Regions from separate parts of the Homo sapiens genome. Here region 1 is linked to region 2. The links are contacts of gene promoters, found by promoter capture Hi-C in human tissues and cell types (Jung and others, 2019). All regions are on one chromosome and are shown on one strand. Each heading gives the region's core, a stretch centred on a gene start or on the middle of the fragment in contact. The rest is flanking DNA. Distances are from core to core; before and after follow the strand shown. Region 1 overlaps MBTPS1 (membrane bound transcription factor peptidase, site 1). Region 2 holds the start of COTL1 (coactosin like F-actin binding protein 1).

Evidence for each region. The method cuts DNA at HindIII sites, captures the fragments that hold promoters and counts their contacts. A contact is called where the count stands out against the background at its distance.
Region 1: a fragment that was not itself captured here is called in contact with the fragment with the promoter of COTL1 in region 2 in 1 of the 25 tissues and cell types used here (dorsolateral prefrontal cortex).

The regions. Positions count from the first base shown.
Region 1 is chr16:84,098,645-84,103,326 of GRCh38, reverse strand. MBTPS1 (membrane bound transcription factor peptidase, site 1) reads left to right here. Exons shown (of 23, transcript NM_003791.4): 2 at 1,220-1,706; 3 at 4,017-4,274. The coding sequence starts at 1,544. Among named protein-coding and RNA genes, the nearest start is that of MBTPS1, 16 kb to the left of the region's middle. The HindIII fragment of the contact is 3,194 bases long and covers 1,084-4,277 here.
Region 2 is chr16:84,615,384-84,620,118 of GRCh38, reverse strand. COTL1 (coactosin like F-actin binding protein 1) reads left to right here and starts at 2,041. Exons shown (of 4, transcript NM_021149.5): 1 at 2,041-2,281; 2 at 2,536-2,618. The coding sequence starts at 2,205. RefSeq lists silencers at 1,783-2,142, 2,163-2,212. The HindIII fragment of the contact is 16,310 bases long and covers 1-4,735 here.

The DNA.
Region 1 (4,682 bases), core at 1,431-3,930, 520 kb after region 2:
TGCAGAGATTGCGCCACCCACTCCAGCCTGGGTGTCAGAGTGAGACCCTTCCTCAAAAAAAAAAAAAAAATAATAATAATAATAAAATCCTAAGTAGCACTGGAAGGCCTCTCTTGCTTCATTTACCCATCCCCTACCCTGCTGGATTATTTACGCCCCGGGTATGGTCTGTGCAACTGTTTTTCTGGTTATGCTACAGCCAGCATTGTTCTTTACTATCGCTCTGTTTTCATTGTGAAGAATGGCAGTTTTTCTTACAATTCAGATGTTTTGGAAGATATCTGTGCGCATGCTTAATTTAATATTCAGGTGACATTTTTCTTTAGCAGTAGTTTCCCTCACAAACTGTCTTCTCATGTCACTCCAGTAAAGAGATAATCTGGTTTTATAACACATTTAGCAGGTTACATTTCTTTAAGTGTGAGGTTTCAGGTAAAATAAATTTCAGGACAGTAAACCCTTTTATGCTCTTTTCATAGAATTGGTAGAAAATATTTCAAACTATGTAATATTAAAGCATAGTGTTTCTTAAAGAAGGTGTTAAATATCACTGATAGGGAAATTACTTTGCTGTTAGGTATTAATGTTACAGCAGAAAGTAAGGCTTTATACCAAGCTTTTGCCTGAAAAATTGATGAAATTTGTGGGAAGTAAAAGTGCCAACTGGGGAAATGCTCTGGGGATTGAGTTGCAAATGATAGGAAATACAGAATCTGAAACAGAACAAAGGATCATCCTGATGCCTTCTTCTCTTTGGCTGCTAGAATGCTCAGGTCCAGTGTGCTTAATATTTTTGGTGTTATTTTGTTGTCCTTACTTTTTTCCATTTTTCTCATTGATTTTATTGTTTTATTTTTGAAGATGCCTAAAAAAAATTTTCCCGTGAAAGCAGTGAGTAATAAGTAAATAAAAATGAAATAATATGTTTCATGGTTGTATGGCACATTAATTTGTCTTAAAACCAGGATATCTCTTTTACCCTCTTATTTATTTTATTATTTTATTATTTTAGACATAGGGTCTCACTTTGTTGCTCAGGCTGGACTCAGACTCCTGGGCTCAAGTGATCTTCCCACCTCAGCCTCCCAAGCAGCTGATCTACAGGCACCTGCCACCTTGCCTGGCTGACCCACTTGCTTAAATTATAAATACAACTAAATCATACCTGGCTATGTCAGTTTGCTACTAATGTCTGTGTGCACTGTTTTTTGTTTCATAGATTGGCTCACAGTGGTTGATTGATCAACCCCATTGGACGTTGGTTCTGTGGTACAAATGGAGTACAGGACTCAGTCGTCACGGCCTGAGTGAGAGAAGCCTTATTTCCAAGATGGAGAAGAAGCGGAGAAAGAAATGAAAGCCTCTCTTCAGGCTGAACCACAAAAGGCCATGGGATTTAACTTTTATTTATGTTGGGCAAGACTGTAAGATGGCTGATTAGTAATGTTGCAGCTTTTAGCTGAAACAAAAATTCACTTTTAATCAAGAAGAAAAAAGTGTGATTTGAATATATGCAATTTTATGATCATATTCGCTTGTGACCATGAAGCTTGTCAACATCTGGCTGCTTCTGCTCGTGGTTTTGCTCTGTGGGAAGAAACATCTGGGCGACAGACTGGAAAAGAAATCTTTTGAAAAGGCCCCATGCCCTGGCTGTTCCCACCTGACTTTGAAGGTGGAATTCTCATCAACAGTTGTGGAATATGGTAATGATGTTGTCTTAAGTATTAGGAACTCCCATCCTATTTTTTTAAAGCTTACTTAATATAAAATTAGCTATTGCTGAATAACATGTTCCTCTTTTCTACAGTAAATTTCTTTCTTTTTTTTTTTTTTGAGACAGAGTCTCACTCTGTCACCCAGGCTGGAGTGCAGTGGCATGATCTCGGCTCACTGTAACCTCCACCTCCTGGATTCAAGCAATTCTCATGCCTCAGCCTCCCAAGTAGCTGGGATTATAGGTGACTGCCACCGTCCCTGGCTAATTTTTTGTTTTGATTTGTTCTGTTTTGTTTTGTTTTGTTTTTGAGATGGAGTCTCACTCTGTTGCTGAGGCTGGAGTGCAATGGCACGATCTCGGTTCACTGCAACTTCCACCTCCCAGGTTCAAGCAGTTCTCCTGCCTCAGCCTCCTGAGCAGCTGGGACTACAGGCACCCGCCACAACTCCCAGTTAATTTTTTCTATTTTTAGTAGAGATGGGGTTTCACCACATTGGCCAGGCTGGTCTCGAGCTCCTGACCTCGTGATCCGCCTGCCTTGGCCTCCCAGAGTGTTGGGACTACAGGCATGAACTATCGTGCCAGGCCTTTTTTTTTTTTTTTTTTTGTATTTTTAGTAGAGACGGGGTTTCAGCATGTTAGCCAGGCTGGTCTTGAACTCCTGACCTCAAGTGATCACCCTCCTTGGCCTCCCAAAGTGCTGGGATTACAGGCATGAGCCACCGTGCCTGGCCTTCTGTAGTAAATTTCCAATGGGTTGAGTGCACAGCACATGAATGTTAACTTTGCTTAAGTTTGTTTTCCCAGTAGAGTAAGCTTATATGATAAAAGGAAATTGACATGAATTATTTACCTACACCTTCTTTTCTTTTTCTTTTGGAGACAGAGTTTTGCTCTTGTCGCCCAGGCTGGAGTGCAGTGGTGCCATCTCAGCTCATTGCAGCCTTGGCCTCCCAGGCACAAGTGGTCTCCCACTTCAGCCTCCTGAGTAGCTGGGACTACAGGCACCTGCCACCGTGCCCAGCTAATTTTTTTATTTTTGTTTTTTCTTTTTTCTTTTTTGAGATGGAGATTCACTCTTGTTGCCCAGGCTGGAGTGCAATGGCACCATCTCAGCTCACCGCAACCTCCACCTCCCAGGTTCAAGCGATTCTCCTGCCTCAGCCTCCCGAGTAGCTGGGATTACAGGCATGTGCCACCATGCCCGGCTAATTTTGTCTTTTTAGTAGAGACTGCGTTTCTCCATGTTGGTCAGGCTGGTCTTGCACTCTTGACCTCAGGTGATCCTCCTGCATTGGCCTCCCAAAGTGTTGGGATTACAGGCATGAGCCACTGTGCCCGGCCTGCCCAGCTAATTTTTTTATTTTTTGTTTCACCATGTTGCCCAGGCTGGTCTTAAACTCCTGAGCTCAAGCAATCCATCCACTTCGACCTCCCAGAATGCTGGGATTATAGGCATGAGCCACTGTGCCCAGCCTACACCTTGATTCTTTGGAACAGGTGCCATTGTAATTGGTGAAGGTGGGGAGCTGGGAGGTGCAGAATGTTTATGTTCTAAAGTTTGAGTGACCAGATGTGAAGAACTGAGCAAATAGTCTCACATAATCCACTCTGGAATTTTGTTACTGTTTTCGTTTTAAGAAACACTAACTGAGCATTCAGTTCTCTGAATTTCTTTTTCCTACTTGATAAAAATTATATACATTTCTTTGTTGTGTATTCAAACTTCTGTAGGTATTTGCTTTTTAAAAAAATATCACGGGTATCTGGTTTCGAATGATGTATTCTTTGTGGTTAGGTGATTCATAGAGATCTTTTTTTTTTTTTTTTTGAGACGGAGGCTTGCTCTGTCACCAGGCAGGAGTGCAGTGGTGCAATCTCTGCTTACTGCAATCTCCGCCTCCCAGGTTCAAGTGATTCTCCTGCCTTAGCCTCCCAGGATTATAGGCGCCCACCACCACACCCAGCTAATTTTTTGTATTTTTAGTAGAGATGGGGTTTCACTATGTTGGCCAGGCTGGTCTCAAACTCCTCACCTCGTAATCTGCCCACGTCAGCCTCCCAAAGTGCTGGGATTACAGGCGTGAGCCACCGCGCCCAGCCCCATATAGATCATTTTTCCTCAAAGCTCTGCAGACAGCTGTCTAGGTACTTAAACTAGTCTTTGTGTTTTCTCTCGTCTGCTGTGGGCTTTAAGATAATTTTTCTTTTGCCAGATTTTAGATTAGATACAATATAGTATATGTTATAATGTATGTGCGTAAATCTTATTTTTGTTTGTGGTGATTGGTTTCAGAATATATTGTGGCTTTCAATGGATACTTTACAGCCAAAGCTAGAAATTCATTTATTTCAAGTGCCCTGAAGAGCAGTGAAGTAGACAATTGGAGAATTATACCTCGAAACAATCCATCCAGTGACTACCCTAGTGATTTTGAGGTGATTCAGATAAAAGAAAAACAGAAAGCGGGGCTGCTAACACTTGAAGATCATCCAAACATCAAACGGGTCACGCCCCAACGAAAAGTCTTTCGTTCCCTCAAGTATGCTGAATGTGAGTATTGTGACTGTAGGCAAATTTCTCTCTGCTGTTTACTTTGAAAATCTCAAACTGCAGAGTAGTTGAAAAATAGTACAGTGAGTATCCGCATCCTTCCATCTAGTTTGCTAATTGTGAACATTTTCCTGGTAGGAATTTTTTAGTTTAGTTTTGTTTAGTGCGCAGGGTCGGTGTTGGGGGGGCAGAATTATTTTTTAAAAAGAGACTTCGTACTGTTCTGGTAGAAGAAAATCTGAGGGTTTGCAGTAGTAGATGGTAGTGATCTTTGTTTCTGTTGGAAGCGATTTTCGCCAGCTTCATCTCAAAGCCTTCAGACTTCAAGGCTGCGGCCGCCTTCTCGTGCTGAAAGACGCGTCCTTGTGTCTGCTTCTTCCTTGCATTTCGCTTCTCTCAGTGTGTGTT
Region 2 (4,735 bases), core at 792-3,291:
TGAATGTATTCATCTTTTCAATGGCTTTTGGATTTGGATTTGGGTAACATGGTTTATGGTTAGAAGGAAGCTCCCCATATTTTCTTCTGGCACTTTTGTGATTTCCTTTTTTTGAGACAGAGTCTCGCTTTATCGCTCAAGCTCGAGTGCAATGGTGCGATCTCAGCTCACTGCAACCTCTGCCCCCCGCCCCGGGTTCAAGCGATTCTCCTGCCTCAGCCTCCCAAGTAGCTGGGATTACAGTCGTCTGCCACCACGCCTGGCTAATTTTTGTATTTTTAGTAGAGATGGGCTTTCCCCCTGTTATCCAGGCTGGTCTCGAACTCCTGAGCTTATGAGATCCTCCCACTTCAGCCTCCCAAAATGCTGGGATTACAGGAGTGATCCACTGCGACTGGTCTGATTTCCTTTATTTGTGTTTAAATTTTTGATCCTTTTGGAATTTTCCCTGATCAAAGGATCCACCTTTGTTCTTCTTTCTAATGGCCAATTGTCCCATTACCCTTGTCAAGGAGTAAGGTAGGAATGGCTTTGTGGGGTATGAAATGTGAATTTCTTTTTGTCTTATTTATAACAGCATCTGCCTCTACTCTTCTGAAACTGTGTTCCTGTCCACCCACCCATTCAACTACCCATTGATTGACTGATTGATTGATTCATTCAATTTCTCGTTTTTGTTTTTTTGCTTGTTGAGAATTCTAACATTAATTGGACATTGTCCCTGACCTTTTGGGTTTCTATTTAGGATTTGTTTTTATCACTTAATAACCAACAATGATGACATTTTATCGAATGTCTAGTATATTTGTTCCAAGTATCATTTCAATTACACTTAAAACAAAGCAGTGATGTCAGTTATACTATTTTTCCCATTTGAGGAGTCATTTAAAAGAGGTTTTGAGGCTTTCCAATGGCCCCCAGTTGGAAAGTGGCAGTACTGGATGCAATTCAAGAGCCCAGTCTTCAGGATCCTGCCTTTTTACCTACCTGGACGCTGTAACTGGTCTCTGTGGAATGGCTGGATGAGGGAATGAATGAATGAGTCAGTGAAGGAATGAGGAAGACAGAATGAGTCAGCTCGTGCTTTCAGAGGAGCCCAAAGGGAGAGGTTAAGATAGGAATGCAAATGACCAGAATCCAGAGTAAACGCGAGCCCACCAGCGTTTTGGAAGCAGTCCACTTTCTACCCCCTCCTATTTAAAATGCTTCATTCTTTCCAGTTCCTCCCCACCTAGAATCCATGGAACCAAACGCTGGGGTAGGGACAGTGGCCAGCCTGTCTCCTTGGGTTTGACGCATTACATCATCCACGTGGAGGTCCCCTGTGGAGCTCTGCAGCCCTGCAGCCTCAGGGGCAGGGGGGTGGGGAGAATGAGGAAGGGGGAGAGGGGGAATAGGAGGAGGGAGTAGGGGACAGGGAGGGAGGAGATGCCAGGAGGGTAAGTGGAGAAGAGGGAGGCGAAGCCGGGGGCAGCAGGGGAGGGGGTCAAGGAGGAGGAAAGAGGAGAGCTTGGGGAGAAGGAAATAGGGAGGATGGAGAAGTTTTGGGCTGGGATAGGCAAGAAGAGGGAGGAGGAGAGAGGAAGAAGAATAAAGGGGGAAGGGAGAAAGAGGGGGAGGGAAGGGAGGGGGAAGAGGTCAGGGAAGTGGGGGAAGCAAGCAGTGGGGGAAGAAGAGGAAGGAGGAGGGAGAGGAGGAAGGCGGGGTGGGAAAGGGGGTTGGGGTAGTGGGAGTTTCCAGGGAGGGGTCGGGAGGGGAGGAGGGGAAGTGAGAAGGAGAAGGAGAGAGAAGAGGGATGTTGGGGGAGAAGAGAGCGGGAGGGAGGAGGGAGAGTGAGAGGGAGGAGGCAAAGCCCCTACTCCAGCCCCCACCGCGGAGTTGCGCAAGCCTTCCGGTCTGGGATTGGCCGCCAGAGAATCAAGACGCTCCGCCCCCGCAGCCCGACGGCCAATGAAGAGGCGGGCCGCCGCCTGGGCGGCCAATGGGCGCGGGGGGGCGGGGCGGGCCACGGCCTGGGGTCCCCGCGCGCTCTCCGTCCGCAGTGGAAGCCGCCGCCGCGCTCGCAGCTTGCAGGCGCCGCGTAGCCGTCGCCACCGCCGCCAGCCCGTGCGCCCTCGGCGCGTACCCGCCGCGCTCCCATCCCCGCCGCCGGCCAGGGGCGCGCTCGGCCGCCCCGGACAGTGTCCCGCTGCGGCTCCGCGGCGATGGCCACCAAGATCGACAAAGAGGCTTGCCGGGCGGCGTACAACCTGGTGCGCGACGACGGCTCGGCCGTCATCTGGTAGGAACTTTTCATTCGTCTCCACGCCCCGCTCCCCGGGCTCGCGCGGGGCCTCGTGCACCGAGCCGGCCTCCAGGCGGGACGGATTCGGGCCTCCCGCGCTGTCTTCCTCGCCTTATTCCGGGACGGCGTGCCAGGCCCCCGCGGGCTTCTCCGTGGCCAGCGCGTCTGTTAGATTGTCCTCTGCAAGCGCCGCGTCGCGCGGCCACCAGCGCTGATGTGTGTGTGTGTTTTTTTCTTCTCCCAACCCAAAGGGTGACTTTTAAATATGACGGCTCCACCATCGTCCCCGGCGAGCAGGGAGCGGAGTACCAGCACTTCATCCAGCAGTGCACAGGTAGGGAGGCGCGCCTGCCGGGCGGATGCGCGGTCGTTGGGAGGTTGTCTGCACCCGGGGAGCCCCGGCCAGAGCGAACCCGGGAGGAACCGGTGGCCACATGGGGTGCCCCTGGCGCATGGCGTGGGAGGAACCCGGTGTGAGCGTTTTAAGGCCTCATAAAACCTTCTCCCCTCTGGACATCCGAAGCAACAGAAGTGACCCACCTGCCTCCGCCATCCTACAATGCCTTCTCCAGGCGGGGCAGCTCTTTTGCCCCCTGCGGTCCACTGGTTTTCTAAGGTCAACTCCTGTGTTTCCAAACTCCAGTGTCCATCCAGCTCTTCCCACTGTCCCCTTTGATCAGTCACTGAGCCCAAATACGAACAGGCTAGGGGGCTGCTTGGAAGGGAAAGAAACTCAGCCGCGCCCTCCTTTCTCCCGCTATCATTGTCTGCCCGTGTGCTGATTTTATGTGATTTTTAATTTGACGAGTAGAATCAGATGCAAAAGAGTACACACCATATGATTCCATTTAGAAATCCTAGACAAGGCGAAACTAATCTATGGTGTGAATGTCAGAATCGAGATTAGCTTTTGGGGCTAGATAGCCACTGATGGGGAGGGGCACACCACCCGGACTGCTGGGAGCTGAAAATGTCTCTGTAGACATTTGTTGATCTGGGAGGGGGTTATGCAGGTGTGTACCCGCGTGAAAAATCATCAGACTGTATACTTAAGATTTGTGTGCCTTAGGCACTTCCCTGTGGCTTGTGAACCATGAAAAGAAAGACCACGTGGCAGGCATCGCCATAAACCCTTCGGTAGTGGCAGAGGCTCTGTGATGTTGGTAATGGGACCTTTTAAAGAGATTGGAGAATGCGACTCCCTCCCATCTCTGGTCTTTAGTTGGAAGCAAGCTTTCGGACAACGGCAGCACAGCCCGGAGGTTACGGCGTGGACCCTGAGCCAGACGGTGTGGGTTACTTATTTATTTATTTATTTATTTATTTATTTTTGAGACAGAATCTTCCTCTTTTGCCCAGGCTGGAGTGCAGTGGTACAATCTCAGCTAACTGCAACCTCCGTCTCCCGGGTTCAAGAGATTCTCCTGCCTCAGCCTCCTGAGTAGCTGGGATTACAGGCGCCCACGACCACGCCTGGCTAATTTTTTGTAATTTTAGTAGAGATGGGGTTTTCACCATTTTGGCCAGGCTGGTCTCTAACTTCTGACCTTAGGTGATCTGCCCACCTTGGCCTCTCAAAGTGCTGGGATTACAGGCGTGAGCCACTGCGCCCGGCCGACGGTGTGGGTTCGAATCCCTGAACGGCTGCTTCCTGGCTGTGTGGTTTGGAACGAGTTCCTTAATCTCTGGGGGTCTTGGTTTCCTCACCTGCACTCTCACAGTGCTGTTGCGAGGATAAGTGAGTCAGTATGTATAAAATGCTCAGAACAGTGCCTGTACAAGCTACATGATTGTTTGCGAAATAAATAAAAAGTACAAAATTGTGCCAGGGATCATGTGGGTGTTTCTTTCCTTAACTGCTTCCATAATCAAATTATATTTTGCATTTAGTTCAATTCAAAGGGTATTTGTGGTGTGACTACTAGAGGATGGGTGATACTGAGAACCCGCGTGCGCGCACACACACACACACACACACACAAAACTAAAATTACTCCTTGAGCGCTGCCTGTAGACATTCATTCATTGCTTTTGTAAACAGTTGGCCTAAAATCGCAGCATAAAGCACTGCAACGATGTGGAGAGTTGGCAGGGCAGGATTTGAACCCAGGCCTCCGTCCCTCCGCCTCTGTAGTTGAATGCTTTTGCAAGTGGAGTAAGTGCAAACTCTTAACTTTCTCCCCTCCGGTCCGTGAACAGCCAGGAGAGTCAGCAGTATTTCTGCTTTGCCGGCTCTGAGGCTATGCTTTACAGACCAGCTTCCCTCCCTAAATTCAGCTTCTTTCCTCCCGCTGGTCACCCATCCCTCCCTTCCCCCATCAAACCATGTTCTGCCTCTGAAGCTACTGTTCTCTCCAGCAAGTAGAAGGGGATGAGGAAAAGAGCATCCATCCCATCAGGAGGCTCCTGGCAGGTGCTCCCAGGCCTCAGCCCACTCTGGTGTAGTGGGAG